Regions from separate parts of the Homo sapiens genome. Here region 2 is linked to region 1. The links are contacts of gene promoters, found by promoter capture Hi-C in blood cells and fetal thymus (Javierre and others, 2016). All regions are on one chromosome and are shown on one strand. The core of a region is centred on a gene start or on the middle of the fragment in contact, and the rest is flanking DNA. Distances in the headings are between cores, read along the strand shown. Region 1 holds the start of SFRP1 (secreted frizzled related protein 1). Region 2 has its middle 91 kb from the start of SIRLNT.

Region 1 (3,605 bases), core at 371-2,870:
ATGAACAATGAGCTAATTACATTTTTATCTTTCTAATGAGCTGAGGATTTGTGTAAATGAGAAAAGCAGGGGGTACGCTAGAGGGAGGGAGAAAAGACTTTCCACCCCCAGCCCTCCGAGGGCAGAGCTGGTACCTGGAAGGGGTGGAGAAACAGAAGTCCCCACGGTTCCTAAACTTTCTCAGCCAGTTTTGCAGCAATCCCAAGGCTACTTGACTGAATGACCAGTGAAGGAAAGGGCTTGGTTTTATTTTTTAAATCTTTGTCGAACCTATGAAAATAAACAAAAGCTGCTCCAAGCATTCTCTCGGCCTTTCTGAACTTTCTACGCTTTGGGTTTTTGTTTTTTCCTCCCGTCTCAGAGGTTAAAAACTTCGATAGGGACTCGGAGTCCTCCTAGAGGAGAGGGAAGCTCCCCTGTTATTTAAAGCGCAAGGCTTTGTTTCAGGTATGGGAAAGGCGAAGTTGGATCCCAGGAAGAGCGGCTCCGGGGACCACAGCGAGTCCCTGCGAGGCCAAGGCGCAGAGCTGCCGCTCCCGGGCCAGCCCCGCCGTGCACCTGGGTCGCGAGGGGCGCTGAGCGATACCTGGGACAGACCAGACGCGCTTAGGAATCACGTGCACAGCATGCGAGCAACCTCGGGCCCTCAGTCCCCAGCACCGGGACCCAGCGGCGGGCGGGCGTAGGGTGGCGCGGGTTCTCCTGCAGCTCCGGCCGGGGGATGGAGGGGGCGGCTCGCGCACGTGGGAGGAGGCAGCCTTACCTTGGGGCTTGGAGGCTTCGGTGGCATTGGGCGGCGTCATGGCGATGCAGACGTCCCCCTCGGGGAACTTGTCACACTTAAGCATCTCGGGCCAGTAGAAGCCGAAGAACTGCATGACCGGCTCGCACGAGTCGCGCACGGCCTCGCAGAGCCAGCGACACGGGTAGATGGGCCGGTCCAGGCAGACGGGCGCGAAGAGCGAGCAGAGGAAGACCTGGGTGCCGGCGTGGCAGTTCTTGTTGAGCAGGGGCACCCAGCTGCTGGCCTGCTGCTTCACCTCCGCCATGGTCTCGTGCTCCAGCAGGTTGGGCAGCACCATCTTCTTGTAGCCCACGTTGTGGCACAGCCGCAGGTCCGCGGGGATGTCCACGCACTGAGGTGGCTTGGTGTAGAAGCGCCCGCTCTGGTACGGGCCGATGTCCGACTGGAAGCTCACGTAGTCGTACTCGCTGGCCGAGCCCACGGCCAGAAGCGCCGCGCCCAGCGCCAGCAGCACGCCCAGGGCTGCCCCGCGGCGGCCCCCCTCGCTGCGCCCGATGCCCATGCCGGCTCTGCGCCCTGTTCTCCGCGACGTCGGGGCTGCCTCCGCCGCCTCCCCGCGCGCGTCCTGCCGCAAACTTCCAGGGACCTCCGGGGACAAAAGGCGCAGTCCCCAGCGTTGCCCGGCTCCGCGGCCGCAAGCTGCTGCCCGGTCCCCCCGGCCAGTGGCGGCCCTCGGCCTGCGGTCGGAGGCGGCGCGGGCGGGGAGGCGGCGCTGCGGGCTGGGTGCGCCCCGGCTCCCGGAGGTGCGGCGAGCAGGAAGGCGCGGGGCGGCGGGCGCGCGGCACTGACTCCGGAGGCTGCAGGGCTGGAGTGCGCGGGGCTCCTACGGCCGAGCCCTCGGAGCCGCCCCGCGCAGCCAATCAGCTCCCGGCGGGGCGAGCCGCACTCGTTACCACGTCCGTCACCGGCGCGGGAGCCAATCGCCTCCCTCGCGAGCGGGTTCGGTTTACTAGAACCAGACGCGGCTCAACACCCCTTAAAAAACAAAACCAAAAATACATAAATAAAAGGGGGAGGAGGAAAGAGACAAGGGGAGAAAAAGAAGGGGAATGGATCACGGCGTGGGGTGGAGAGAGACCAGGGCGGACGCTGTAATTAACTCGCATTGGCTTGCAGAGAAGCGGGGAGCCTGGATCATACTTGCAAACCCATGAAATTATGAAGACTTTTTTTTTTTGAGACAGTTTCGCTCTTGTTGCCTAAGCTGGAGTGCAATGGCGCTATCTCCGCTGACTGCAACCTCCGCCTCCCGGGTTCAAGCGATTCTCCTGCCTCAGCCTCCCGAGTAGCTGGGATTACAGCCGCGTGCCACCATGCCCCCGCTAATTTTTTGTATTTTTAGTAGAGACGGGGTTTCACCATGTTAGCCAGGCTGGTCTCGAACTCCTGACCTCAGGTGATGCTCCTGCCTTGGCCTCCCAAACTTTTTTTTTCTTTTTCTTTACACTGCTTCCTAATTTCAACCAACAGCCCTTTAGACTAGCGGCTCCTCTCCTCGGTTCTCTAGCTGCGGTGCAGACAGGTGGTTTCCCAACTAACAGGGGTTCAGGAAGGCTGAAGCGAGGGAGGTCTGCTTGTAAATACCCAGTGGGCCTGGCTGGGCTCCCTGGAAGGCGAGGCGAAGGCGCAGTTGGAGCTGTTTGCTGTGAGCAGCACCTCTCCAGGTGGGGCCGCCCATGGTGGCCCTCAACACTGGGGCAGTGGGTGGACTTTGCCCGGTGTGGCGGCAGGAAGAGCTGCTAGCAACGGTATTAGCTCTGGGAGGACACTTTTTTAAATATATAATATATATTTAAATAGAAAAACCCTACTCAAGTCCTAGCCCGGGCGACAGCACATCTGTGTGTTTGTGGTGTGGAAAGCCAAAACATTAAAAACACATGTGCACTTATCAGCGTGGCTGGTGTAAATACCAAGTCCATCACTCAGGCACACATGCTAAGGTTAGACCCAGTCCAGGAACTTCAAGTTAAAATCAAGGGTCCCCACTAGGGCAGACGCCAAGAGGACGGTATCAGCACAACAGCTCGGCCCCCAGGAACAGAAGTCTCTCTGCCACCTTCTACCTCGAATTCCTGAGAATTCTTCGTAGGTTTCAAACATTCCCCTGAGAGGGAGGGTTAAGCTCTGGAGAGCTGGGAGTGAGACCCGGACTATCCCGGGACAGAAGACCACAGCAAATAGTTCATGAAGTTCCTGGAGTCTCCATATCTTCTGTCCCTAAGTGCGGGTGGAGAGAGGCTGATATATTCATAGCCCAGTCTGAGCGCACACCCCATGTGGCAAAGGGGTCACAGATCTTAGCGCTCCACAGAGACACTATAGGGCGCGCTGCCTTGCCCGCCAGCTTGTTTGTAAAGCTCTAGGGAGCTTGCTTTGGACTCTGCAAACCTAATTTCTTGATGGACAGATTCCAAGTGAAATGACTAGAGTTTGTGAAGAAGCAGGGCTGTTTTCTTAAAGCATTCGTGCCCGTACAGACACGGTGATTCCACGGTGCACACAGGAGGCTTCTGCAGATGGATGACTTCTCTGTCATTTCGTGGCCAATGGAAGATGCCTTGACACTCAAAAGGTGACATGGAGGCTGGAAGGAAAACACAGAGAAGAGAGAGCAAGATCGGGATGGCCAAGGGTTAATCCCAAGACAATTGGTGAGGCCGGCCTGTGGAGCTGAGGAAGACATTCCTCACAGAGAATAAGACCGCAGGAGACCCGGCAACTGTGTCTCAATTCAAGGGGCATTTAGAGAAAAATGCTGTTTGGTAGGGGGTCTTTTTGTCTCCTAGGGCCAGGCCCT
Region 2 (3,605 bases), core at 816-3,315, 1.1 Mb before region 1:
CTGCATTTTTAAAAATAATTGTCTTTACGAGCAATGCTTTTCTTATTTTTCTTACCCCATAATTCACATTTTTGCTAAGCAATTCACATAATTTTTTATAATGTATTTTAGATACATTTTTTACTGCCACTCTGATTTATGAGAAGAGGCAATTTGTAAAACAATCTTAAAATGTTCTAATGATTAAATAAATCACCTTAAATAAGTTGCTTAGACAAAATTATCTTGCTTGAGACTGAAATCATTTCTGTCCCAGGAAAGGGTTATCACTACTAATGGGTTCATCAGGTTGTCATTGATAGACAATGCTCTCTTTGCAGTCTGTTTATAGAGGAACACACTGGACGTAATTTATTTTCCCAGGAAAGATTCCTGGTGATGAAAACCAATACGGAAACGCTACAGTTGTCAGAAAGTGGGAGTAGAAGTGTAGATCAGGTGGCATCAGGGATGTGAGGCCTCCACTTGACCCCATTTCTATGCAGCCTTCACCACTATCCTCAAAGTGGCACTCTGAGGGACCTACTTCTTCCTCTGCCCAGGTATCATCACTCAACAGTGACAGTGCTGAACTTTACCTGAGTTCCACTCTCCTGGAAAACTGCGAAGCTTAAAAAAAAAAAAAACACCTTCATCATCGGTGTTTCTGAGAACAACTTACTGCAAAGAGGCTTAAGACTCATAATTTTCTGTCTTGTTTACTTATGACAAGGCCGGACACAGACCCTCCAAATTTCTAACTCTTGGTCTCATCAATGATTAGCTGAACCGGTTGCCATCATAAATCAACAGGTACAAAATGCTGGTTACCTAAACTTCTCCCAAGCTCCTCAGCTGTGGCTCACCCTCAGCCTGAGCTGGTGCACACCAGAAAATAGGCTGGCCTCAGGTAAATCACTGTCTGATCTACCAGCTGATCATGCTACATAGTCATTTAGCTGTTTCCAGCCTTGTTTACTCCGCTTTCTAAAGAAAAACCCATTTCCCCAGCCTTTGAGTCCTGGTAGATTTCATGTCATGGCATTATTCCTATTGCGATAGTTCTCTCCCTGTTTCAAGTCTCTTCCCCACTCCCCTTGCAATACTTTTTTTGGTTAAATCTCTCCTTACTAAGCCTGTATTTTTTTTTTATTTGACCCCATGGGTTGTGATGGGGTTCAGAACACACTTCCCCAAAATATGGCACTGGTAGGATGAATATTTTAAGCTGAAGGAATTTGAGAATGGTCAGGTGCACGAAGGACTCTCTGACTTTCCTGTAACCCCTGAAGCAGGTCATAAGACCCTCCTGGGTGAGGGGTTTCTGAAGGGAATCTGCATGAACACGCTTTGCTAAATTCCCCCAGTTCACTACTCTTAGCTCACACCCCTTTGTCCTACCACACTTTTCTATGACTTTCCACCCTACACCCAACCTAGTATAAAAACACTCAGGTTTGGCCTGGCGCAGTGGCTCACGCCTGTAATCTCAGCACCTTGGGAGACCGAGGTAGGCAGATCACCTAAGGTCAGGAGTTCAAGACCAGCCTGCCCAACATGGCAAAACCCCGTCTCTACTAAAAATACAAAAATTAGCCAAGCATGTTGGTGGGTGCCTATAGTCCCAGCTACTCGGGAGGCAGAGGCAGGAGAATCACTTGAACCCAGGAGGAAGAAGTTGCAGTAAGCCAAGATCACGCCATTGCACTCCAGCCTGGGCGACAAGAGCAAAACTCCGTCTCAGAAAAAAGAAAAAAAAAAAAACAAAAACCCACCCACTCAGGTTTAATCATATCTTCAGGTCTTCATTTCCTTAAAAAGGTTTTCATTTTCTAAGAACTTAATACATTTTTATGCTTTTGTCTTTTTCATCTGTCTTTTGTCAGTTGAATTTACAAGGGCCGCAGCTGGAAAACCTAGGAGTATAGAGGAGAAAAGCTGTTTTTTCCTCCTCTACAACTGTAAAACTCCACTATGAACAAAGCTAAAATGTAATGGAAACAATATGGTTCCTCTGGCTGCTATTTTCCAACACAACTGGGGTTGGGGTGCGGTTAGAAAAGGTGAGGATGCAAGTATAGGGCTAGGTAGGAAAAAGATGAAAACCTCAGCTTGGAAGTCAGGAGCTAGAGGTTAGTTCTGCACATTCCCAGTTTTCTCCCTTTCCATTTATCATGGAAGCCGCCAATGAAACATGTACCAGCTGACCTGGAGATTCCGCCAATCCTTGCTGAGATCCTGGAAGCTCCAGCCAGCCGGCCACAGGACCCAGAACTGGCTCCAGCAATATTTAAAGTGGAACAGATGACAACCACCGGGTGGCGCCAAACACTGCCCGGACAAGGACAGATTTGTGCAACAGTCATGGACCCTTGGTACTGCAGCTTTTAAGCTGACCTGGCTCATACATTGGTTTCATTAGCTACTCAATGATGCTAGACTGCATGTTAATTTTTGGACCTTACTCGTGTTACAGCCTTAGTGAATTGTATTTATTAAGTACCTTCTGAATGGCAATTCAAATAAACATCAAATAATCGTCAGAGAGTTTATATTATCGGGGATTAAGATATGAACCTCTAAAAAGATATGAGAAAAAAGATATGGCAAAATGGTGTATTTTGGGTCCCTTCACTGAAATTTTTTTTTTAACATTTTAAAAAATTCTTATGGGTACATAATAGGTATATATATTTATGGGTTACATGTGATGTTTTGATACAGGCATACAATGTATAATAATCAAATTAGGGTAACTGGGGTATCCATCACCTAAAGTCTTCATTATTTCTTTGTTTTAGGGACATTCTAATTTTACTTTTTCAGTTCTTTTAAAATATACAATAAATTACTGTTGACTATAGTCACCTTGTTTTGCTATCAAATACCAGATCTTATTCATTCTAACTATACCTGACTGAAATTTGTAGCTGAAATTTTTGGAAATGTTGACAGGTAGAAGATGGAAGGGGTGAAATCTATTTAAAAGTGAGAAACAATGCTCTTTGCTCTAGAAGTGGAGACTAACTCTTCTTCGGGAGTTCCTTTCAGGAAAATTATTTGGATGATACTTTTAGTTATGCAAGTGTAATGTAAAAAGACTGCAGGGATGAAGATGTGGGAGAAACTGGCTCAAAGTAGTTAAATTACTGTGAATAACAATATAGAGTTTGCTTTTGTTGCAGCAAAAGTTGCATATTTAGATGAGTAATTTTATTAAAGCAGTATTTCTCAAACTTTTCAACAGATCCTCTCTGAGCGATGAATTTTACAGTTTACATTGTGACCAAGTACACAAACACACACCTGTTTCACAATTTCCCTTATCACACACAGGTCTTGGATAATTTTTATTTATTTTTTTTAATGTCTAAAAAATGCTTACGGTTATTCATTATACTGACTTCAAGAATACCACTGGATTGCAAGCTACCATTTAAAAAATGTATTGGAGAAATGTTTTCATTTCTAGTGCAGATTTAGAGTGCATTTTATTCCCCATCTTTATGGTAACAAAGACTCCCTTCTTGACCAACCCCTAAACAAGCTTCTTTAAGCGCCGCACCCCAACTACTTTTTTTTTTTTTTTTTTTTTTGACTAGGACCTATCTGAGCCTTGCTCTTAA

What was found. Contacts are between HindIII fragments. The CHiCAGO score rates a contact against its expected background, and 5 or more counts as called.
Region 2: a fragment that was not itself captured here is called in contact with the fragment with the promoter of SFRP1 in region 1 in 1 of 17 cell types (M2 macrophages); the score reaches 5.7 in M2 macrophages.

The regions. Positions count from the first base shown.
Region 1 is chr8:41,307,853-41,311,457 of GRCh38, forward strand. SFRP1 (secreted frizzled related protein 1) reads right to left here and starts at 1,621. Exons shown (of 3, transcript NM_003012.5): 1 at 764-1,621. The coding sequence starts at 1,307. RefSeq lists enhancers at 1-570, 571-1,341, 3,261-3,605. The HindIII fragment of the contact is 12,075 bases long and covers 1-3,605 here.
Region 2 is chr8:40,250,972-40,254,576 of GRCh38, forward strand. No RefSeq gene overlaps it. Among named protein-coding and RNA genes, the nearest start is that of SIRLNT, 91 kb to the right of the region's middle. The HindIII fragment of the contact is 2,917 bases long and covers 608-3,524 here.